Regions from separate parts of the Homo sapiens genome. Here regions 1 and 3 are each linked to region 2. Evidence: promoter capture Hi-C in human tissues and cell types (Jung and others, 2019). All regions are on one chromosome and are shown on one strand. Each heading gives the region's core, a stretch centred on a gene start or on the middle of the fragment in contact. The rest is flanking DNA. Distances are from core to core; before and after follow the strand shown.

Region 1 (2,700 bases), core at 103-2,602, 540 kb after region 2:
GGCTGTCTCAAAGCAAGGAGTCTAGAGAAGCCAGGTGCAGGCTTCTCTGGTCCTCCCTAGGTGAGGGCCAGGCAGGATGTATCTTTCTCTTACAGATTAGGAATCACCAGTGTTGTCATACTCTGCTCAGGCTGCCATTACAAAATATCACAGTCTGCATGGCTTAAACAAGAGAAATGTATTGTCTCATAATTTTGCAGTCTGGAAGTCCGAGATCAAGGTGCCATCATGGTCCATTTCTGGTGAGGGCTCTCCCGGCTTACAGAAGGCGGCTTTCTTGCTGTGTCCTTACATGACAGTGAAAGAGGGCCTTTTTACAAGGCCATGGTCCTATCAAATTAGAGCCCCACCCTTAATTACCTAATTTAACCTTAACTACCTCCTAAAGACATAGAGATTAGAGCTTTAACACATTAATTCTGCGGGAAACACAATTCAGTCCATGGCACATGCAACAGACTACCTCAGAATCAGAGACTCCAAAATGGAATCTCAGCTAGGGATTTTTGTTTTTTTGGTCACATAATCATATTCCTGCTACGTAACAGTAAAGCCCCCCGAGAGTTTTCACAGAGACCAAGTGTAAACCATAAATCTCACTGGCAAACTGATAGAAACTATCCCAAAACTCCCTATTTCATTTATTCTCTCCAAGGTGTTGGCCATTGACTTAATTTAAAAAAATCTTTTTACTGTGGTGAAATGTGCATAACATAAAATATATCATTTTAACCGTTTTTAAGTATGCAAATCAATGACATTAAGTACATTCACATTGTTGTGCCCACTTTTTCCCGACTTTCTCCATCATTCCAAATAGAAACTGTACAGATAAATAATAACTTCCCATTCTCCCCTCCTCCAGCCCCCAGTAACCTCTACTTTCTCTGTGAATCTACCTATTCTAGCTACTTCATATAAATGGAATCATACAACATTTGGCTTTTTGTGACTGGCTTATCTCACTTAGCATAATGTTTTTAAATTTCTTCCATTAGAATTTCACTTTTGTTTTTTAGATAGAGTCTCGCTCTGTTGCCCAGACTAGAGTGCAGTAGCATGATCACAGCTCACTGCAGTCTCGACCTCCTGGGTTCAAGTGATCCTCCCACCTTAGCCTCCCAAGTAGCTGGGACCATTGGTGCATGCCACTATGCCTGCTAATTTTTTAAATTTTTTGTAGAGACAGGGTTTCTCAGTGTTGTCCAGGCTAGTCTCGAACTCCTGAGCTCAAGCAGTCCGCCCACCTTGACCTCCCAAAGTGCTGGGATTACAGGTATGAGCTGCCATGCCCAGCTTCATTCTTTTTAAAGACTGAATAATATTCCATTGTATGCGTATGCCATATTTTATTTGTCTATTCATCCATTGATAAACATTTGGTTTCTATCTTTTTTTTTTTTTTACTATTGTGAATAATGTTGCTGTAAACATAAGTGTACAAATATCTTGTGTTCAAGTCTCTTTTAATTCCATTTGGTATATACACACAACTGGAGTTGCTAGATCAAATGGTAATTTTATGTTTAATATTTTGAGGACCACCATACTGTTATCCATAGTGGCTGCACCGTTTCACATTCCCACTAGCAACGCACCAAGGGTTTCAATTTCTCCACTCTACACCAACATTTGTTCTGTTTTTGTGGCAATAGCCAATCCTAATGTGTGTGAAGTGGTATCTTACTGTGGTTTGGATTTGTATTTCCCTAATGATTAGTGGTGTTGGGCATCTTTTTATGTGCTTCCTGCCTTCCTAATGGTTTTTTTTTTGTTTTGTTTTGTTTTGTTTTGTTTTTTCTTTTTGAGACAGTGTCTCGCTATTGCTCAGGTTGGAGTGCATGGTGAGATCATAGCTTACTGCAACCTTGAATTCCTGGACTTAGGGGATACTCTTGCCTCAGCCTCCTGAGTAGCTTGGATTACAGGCACATACCACCATGGCTGTTTTTAGGTTTTTGTAGAGATGGGGTGTCACTATATTATCCAGGCTGGTGTTGAACTCCTGGCCTCAAGAGATCTTCCATCCTCAGCCTCCCAAAACACTAAGATCACAGGCATGAGCCAACATGTCCAGCATCCTCTTAACACTTTCAGTCAGTATGTTTCCTGCCACACCTTGACCAAGGAAGGAACTTTAGCAAAATAGCTCTGGCTAATTCTAAACCTGGAATTAGCACAACAGTTCACTCTACCCCCATAACCAACATTAACTCTATTTTTTGATAAAACAGTAATCCTGAGTTGACAACAGTTACTTCACTTCTCAATATCATATAGATAATCAAAATACATAGACAAGCAGGGCATAGTGGCTCACCCCTATAATCTCAGCACTGAGGCCAAGGTGGGAGGATCACGTGAGGCAGCGAGGAGTTAGAGACCAGCCTGGCAACATGGCAAGACCTCACCTCTACAAAAAAAGATATTTTAATTAGCCAGGCATTGTGGCATATGCCTGTAGTCCTAGCTACTCTGGAGGCTGAGGCAGAAGGATCACTTGAGCCCAAAAGTTTAAGGTTACAGTGAAGTATTATCACATCACTGCACTCCAGCCTTGGTGACAGAGCAAACACTGTCTCTAAAAAAATGCATACACAGAATCCAAACATTTACAATGATCAGTGAAGGGTTGGTACTGATTTAAACAGACAGCTGAATTATCCAATTACACTTTCTTGTGTTTTTGTACGAACTGTA
Region 2 (2,700 bases), core at 149-2,648:
CCTGGCTTGAGTGTCTTTAGATTCCTCACGTAAAAGGCAGAGAGCTAGGAGTTAAGTGCAGGTGGAGAGGGTGCAGGCACCCGGCTCTTTTCGTTTGTTTTGTTTTTGAGACAGGGTCTCACTGTTGCCTAAGCTGTAGTGGCAAAATCATGGCTTACTGCAGCCTCAACATCCTGGGCTCAAGTGATTCTCCCACCTCAGCCTCCCAAGTAGCTGGGACTACAGGTGCACACCACCATACCCAGTTAATTTTTGTATTTTTTGTAGAGACAGTGTTTCATCATGTTGCTCAGGCTGGTCTCCAACTCCTGGACTCAAGCGATCTGCCCAGCTCAGCCTCCAAAGTGCTGAGATTATAGGCGTGAGTCACCGTGCCCAGCTGAGACACCTGGCTCTTACAGCTCCAGATGAACCCTTTCCTGTGTGATCACCCCACTGGCACTCCAGACTGAACAACATAGCAAGACCCTGTCAAAAAAAAAAAAAAGGGGGGGGGCCACTTGAGTGTTTCTATTTCTATTTATTTATTTAATTCTTTTATTTTTTGGAGACGGAGTCTCGCTCTGTCGCCCAGGCTGGAGTGCAGTGGCGCGATCTTGGCTCACTGCAACCTCCGCCTTCCGGGTTCAAGAAATTCTCCTGTCTCAGCCTCACAAGTAGCTGAGACTACAGGTACAGGCCGCCATGCCCGACTAATTTTTTGTATTTTAGTAGAGACAGGGTTTCACGTGTTGCCCAGGCTGGTCTCAAACTCCTAAGCTCAGGAAATCTGCCTGCCTCGACCTCCCGAAGTGCTGGGATTACAGGCGTAGGCCACCGCAGCCGGCTCACTGGGGGCGCAGTAAATGCCGATTTCCCTTGGGTATCTTCATTTCTCCTTAGAGCCGAGCTCGGTGCGCCGCGGGCAGGAGTGGGTGGGGCGACAGTAATAAGAGTAACAGCAAGCGTACACACGGCCTTCCAAGTGTGCCAGACACCGCTCTAACACTGAATCCGCACAACCCGAAAGGCAGGCCTTTTTTTTTTTTTTTTTTTTTGCTTTTTGTTTTTTAGAGACGGGAGGGTCTCCCTGTGTTGCCCAGGCTGGTCTCGATCTGTCGGCCTCAAGCGATCCTCCGGTCTGGGGCCCCCACAGTGCTGGGATTACAAGCGTGAGCCACCGCGCCCGGCCAAGGAAGTCTTAATGTACCTCTTTTCAGACAGGAAAACTAAAGTGTAGCGCGGCTAAGTAACGTAGGAAGCATCAATCATGTTTCTGGTCAAAGAAGCGAACCAAGTCAATTCTCAGGCAGAAGCAGCGGAGATTCTCCGCAGCCGGCAGCGCCCAGGGCGCCCGGAACCCAGAGAGCGAGACCGCGTGAAGGAAGTCCCGCCCCGCCCCGTCCTGCCCTGGCCTCCAGGTTTCCGCTTCCGCTCTTCCCTGGTCCAGTCCACCCTGGCGGGGTCGCAGGGTTGGGATGGCGGCTGGAGGCGATCATGGTTCGCCCGACAGCTACCGCTCACCTCTTGCCTCCCGCTATGCCAGCCCGGAGATGTGCTTCGTGTTTAGCGACAGGTATAAATTCCGGACATGGCGGCAGCTGTGGCTGTGGCTGGCGGAGGCCGAGCAGGTAACGGATCCCGGGCTGAGGGGCTGGGCCGGGAGGGACGGGCCCGCCCCAGCACGTGCCGGGCTCTGTTCCGGGCTGGGCTTAGCCACCCCGGAGCTGCGGCCCGGCTATTTTCAGCTGGGTGTTCCCTGTCCTGAGGAGCTGCGGCCCCAGGAAAGCAAGGGCAGGAGATCCGGGAGCCGCCACCTGTTGCCTCACGTGTTCTCAGTCCGAGAGGGTTCGAGACGCGGAGGAGGCTGGGAGAAATTCAGCCTGTAGTTTCAGGGAATTCATTTTGGCCATCCCCGCAGGAGTACGCTGCTAACCACAGACACCGAGCGCTTGTTTCGTACTGTTGTGCTCATTATTTCACTAATCTTTTCTTGTGTAATCCATGAAGATCTTGCAGGCTTGATGGTGTTTTTCCCACATTGCAGGGGAGAACAAAGCCCGGACAGCTTGTTGTTTGCCCTAGCCCATCCAGCTATTAAGAACGGAACTGGGATTTGAACCTGGGTGCACTCCAGAGCCTGAGCTGAGCACGTAGCCCCTTGGTTTTCCACAGTGCCTGTGTAGTTAGTGACAGGACTGGAATGCTTGTTTTCTAGGCCACCGTTTCTGCCTCACTGGCCTCCGCTTTGCCTCTTAGGAGAAGACTCCGGGTAGGGGTTTATTAAACGGGGTTTATAATTTCTTTTCTAAGGGCTGCATAGAGAACTTCTTAGCCCAGCGGTTTCAGAAATAGCTCCAGAAGAGTTGAAGCAAACTGAAGGTGATCCAGAGAGCGATAATGTTTCTCCTCAAGTTTCAGAGGAAAGTGCCACAACGAGCAAGTTGGCAATGCCCTCTCAAACGGCACAGTAAACATGGAAACAATTTGACTTCGGGCCTAGGACCTGTACCATGGAACTCTCCAAACAGGAAACTTTCATTCTAGATTCCCTCCCTCCCCTTATCACTGCCCTCCAAAATATTGGGCGATACACTACAATAATAGCAGACATTCAGATAGTGCCTTCTGAGACCCAGGTCTTAACCCTTTACACATGGTTGCTTATTAATCCTCCAAACAACCCTGAAGAGTAGGTATGAAATACTATGACTGTACCTG
Region 3 (2,700 bases), core at 64-2,563, 830 kb before region 2:
CCAGCTAACCAATGTCATCCTCCACTTGGCCCAGGAGGAGGCTGACTGGTCTCCGGATATGCTGGCCGACCGTTTCCTGCAGGCCTTGAGGGGACTTATCAGCTACTTAGAGGCTGGAGTCCTGCCCAGTGCCCTAAACCCCAAGGTGAACTTATTTGCAGAGCTCACCCCTGAAGAAATAGACGAATTAGGATACACTCTGTATTGCTCATTGTCTGAGCCAGAGGTGCTGCTGCAGACGTAGGGCAGGTGAAGGCCAAAGCGGGTGTTGGTGGTCAGGCCCTGGATTCTCCGTTAGATACACTTGGCTACCTAGTTGGTGCCTCACAGGGTTCCTGCTGCCTGGTGTCTTGCTGATCATCACCCTGGTCACTTCATGCTGATTAGAATGACATCTCTTTCGTCTCCTATTTTGTTACCCAACTCTTCCTATTTTTGTTACCAATCACTGTGCTCTCTGCCGCCCCCTGGCTCCAGGCTAATTTTTCTGGAATGAATTGAGAAGGTGGCGTGCTGGCCTGAGCTGATGGACCACTTGGTGTTTTGCGTTTTGGCCCATGTTTGCTGCCTCTATCTGGTCTGCCTTGCCCGTTTGCCTGTTCCTATTCAGTGTCTTTTCTATTTTTTCCTCTCTCGTTCATGCCTTCTGTTTTGCTCTTGTCCCTGGAGCATATCTGCCTAATTAAGATGTTGCCTTTTAGTTGAATGCCACTGAAGAGCTGTGATAGCATGTTTCAAAGCTGAACTCTACAGAGCGAGTGCTGAGACAGTATTTAGGGTTTCTGGGAGTGAGGCTGGTAGAAGAGTTGGCCTTTGACCACGGTTCCTGGAGTAGAAGTCCATCCTCCCCCCAACCTCCTGACCCATTCATAAATGCTGAGAATGTCTCTCATGGGAACACTGTTAATGACCCACACAGGATAAGCTGAATGCAAAGTTATTTGCAGGTTGAATTTCTTGGTGGCTATTAGCAGAAGTGCAGAGTAGGGAACCAGAGCTGGTTAAGGGCCTAGTGAAGGGTTTGTGTGCCCAGTGTCTGCTCGTCATCTGTGGCTGCAGGGGTCAGACAGACAAGGATGGGGACTGCCAGGGCACCACTTCATCATGAATGCTGGTTTTCACACCTTTTCCTTATTTTATTGCCAATCAGGACAAGGCCTTGAAGGAACGCAGCCTTAGACATCAGGTGAGGATGATGGAGGTAGACAGTCGACTGAATGTCAGCTGGAAAATCCAGTCACTAGTTGGGGTTTGGTGGCCATGTTTTCTACCCAGACAGGCCCTGCTTTTCTAGGATGTGGCCTTAGAGCAAGAACAGACCCAACAGCCAGCCCTTCATCCTCCAGCGTCTGCCATAGGAATGTGAGAGGGGTGTTTGCTGAGCGCTCCGGGCACGGCCAGAGGGCAAGTGAGCATGCACGGACCTCTTCCCCCTGTCCTGTTTCTCACCCAGCACCTGGGGAGATCGGTGCTACCAAGGAAGAGAGCACACAGATAAGACAGAGGGGAGGAGGTGGGCATTTCCTACATTCCTCCTTGTTTGCCGCTGCTGAGATTGCAGTATTTATTGCAATGTAAATGTATCCTGAAGGTGGGGAGGAATGTTTAATCTACCATGTCCGTGTGTCATCTTGGTTTGTGTTTTTCCCTGTTTGTAGCAAGACTCTGATGATAATTCTGTTTCTCATCTGCCCATTCAGTATTTTGTTTTCCTTCCGTCAAGTTGTCTTATTTTTTCAATGACTACCTCTCCATCATTGAGGTTCTGGTGAAGCTCTCTGCAGCTGTCTCATTCCTTCCCAACGATAGTAACAGGAAATGACTCTTTAGCATCGATACCTCAACATCAATTTAGGGTAGAGATTCCTGCCCCTCTTTTGTCACAGATTAGGAAATTGAGAACTAGGGTTAACCTTGACTATATTTAGAGGTCTTTTTGCCTCTTTTCCCCTTAACAAGGATTTCTTATGGTGGTTTCAGTTTCATTTGCATAAAGGTATTGAGAGGGAACAAAAAACATAAAGCTGAGAATCTTGAGAGAGCTCATCTACCCTGTCTGTTGGTCAGACTCAAATGAGAGTTAAAAAAAAAAAAAAAAATCTGTATGCCTGAGTACCATCCTGGATGAATCTAGAAGGTATGGGGTAGAGCTTGACAGGGTTCCTGTGTACCCACTGGGTATCCGTTAGAGGTAAGGGAGAGGAGAGGATTGATAGAGTGTTGCAAAAGTATAGATTATTCATTGAGATAAAGGATTTGGTTTCCCTGCCATGAGTATTAAAAAAATTTAAGTTTTCCCAAGCTTGCATCTCTGACCAAATTTCACATAAAACATTGGAAGGAGGCTGGGTGCGGTGGCTCATGCTTGTAATCCCAGCACTGGGAAGCTAAGGCGGGTGGATCACTTGAGGTCAGGAGTTCGAGACCAGCCTGGCCAACATGGTGAAACCCCGTCTCCACGAAAAAGATAAAAATAAGCTGGGCGTGGTGGCAGGCGCCTATAATCCCAGCTACTCGGGAGGCTGAGGCAGGAGAATAACTTAAACCCGGGAGGCGGAGGTTACAGTGAGCTGAGATCGTGCCACTGCACTCCAGCCTGGGTGACAGAGTGAGACCCTATTTCAAAAAAATAAAAATTGGAAGAAGAGCTTAAAAAAGATAAGATTTTAAAGAGTCCCAAGTTATTTAAGTTGAGTGTAA

What was found. The method cuts DNA at HindIII sites, captures the fragments that hold promoters and counts their contacts. A contact is called where the count stands out against the background at its distance.
Region 1: a contact is called between a fragment that was not itself captured here and the fragment with the promoter of ADSL in region 2, in 1 of the 25 tissues and cell types used here (dorsolateral prefrontal cortex).
Region 3: a fragment that was not itself captured here is called in contact with the fragment with the promoter of ADSL in region 2 in 1 of the 25 tissues and cell types used here (dorsolateral prefrontal cortex).

What each region holds. Positions count from the first base shown.
Region 1 is chr22:40,887,246-40,889,945 of GRCh38, forward strand. The region is part of intron 4 of XPNPEP3 (X-prolyl aminopeptidase 3); the gene reads left to right. Among named protein-coding and RNA genes, the nearest start is that of DNAJB7, 26 kb to the left of the region's middle. The HindIII fragment of the contact is 5,151 bases long and covers 1-2,700 here.
Region 2 is chr22:40,345,102-40,347,801 of GRCh38, forward strand. It overlaps ADSL (adenylosuccinate lyase), which reads left to right and starts at 1,399. Exons shown (of 13, transcript NM_000026.4): 1 at 1,399-1,610. The coding sequence starts at 1,458. RefSeq lists enhancers at 914-1,427, 1,428-1,941, 1,942-2,454 and a silencer at 1,652-1,741. The HindIII fragment of the contact is 18,864 bases long and covers 1-2,700 here.
Region 3 is chr22:39,514,080-39,516,779 of GRCh38, forward strand. It overlaps MIEF1 (mitochondrial elongation factor 1), which reads left to right. Exons shown (of 6, transcript NM_019008.6): 6 at 1-2,700. The coding sequence ends at 244. Among named protein-coding and RNA genes, the nearest start is that of ATF4, 5.1 kb to the right of the region's middle. The HindIII fragment of the contact is 4,706 bases long and covers 1-2,700 here.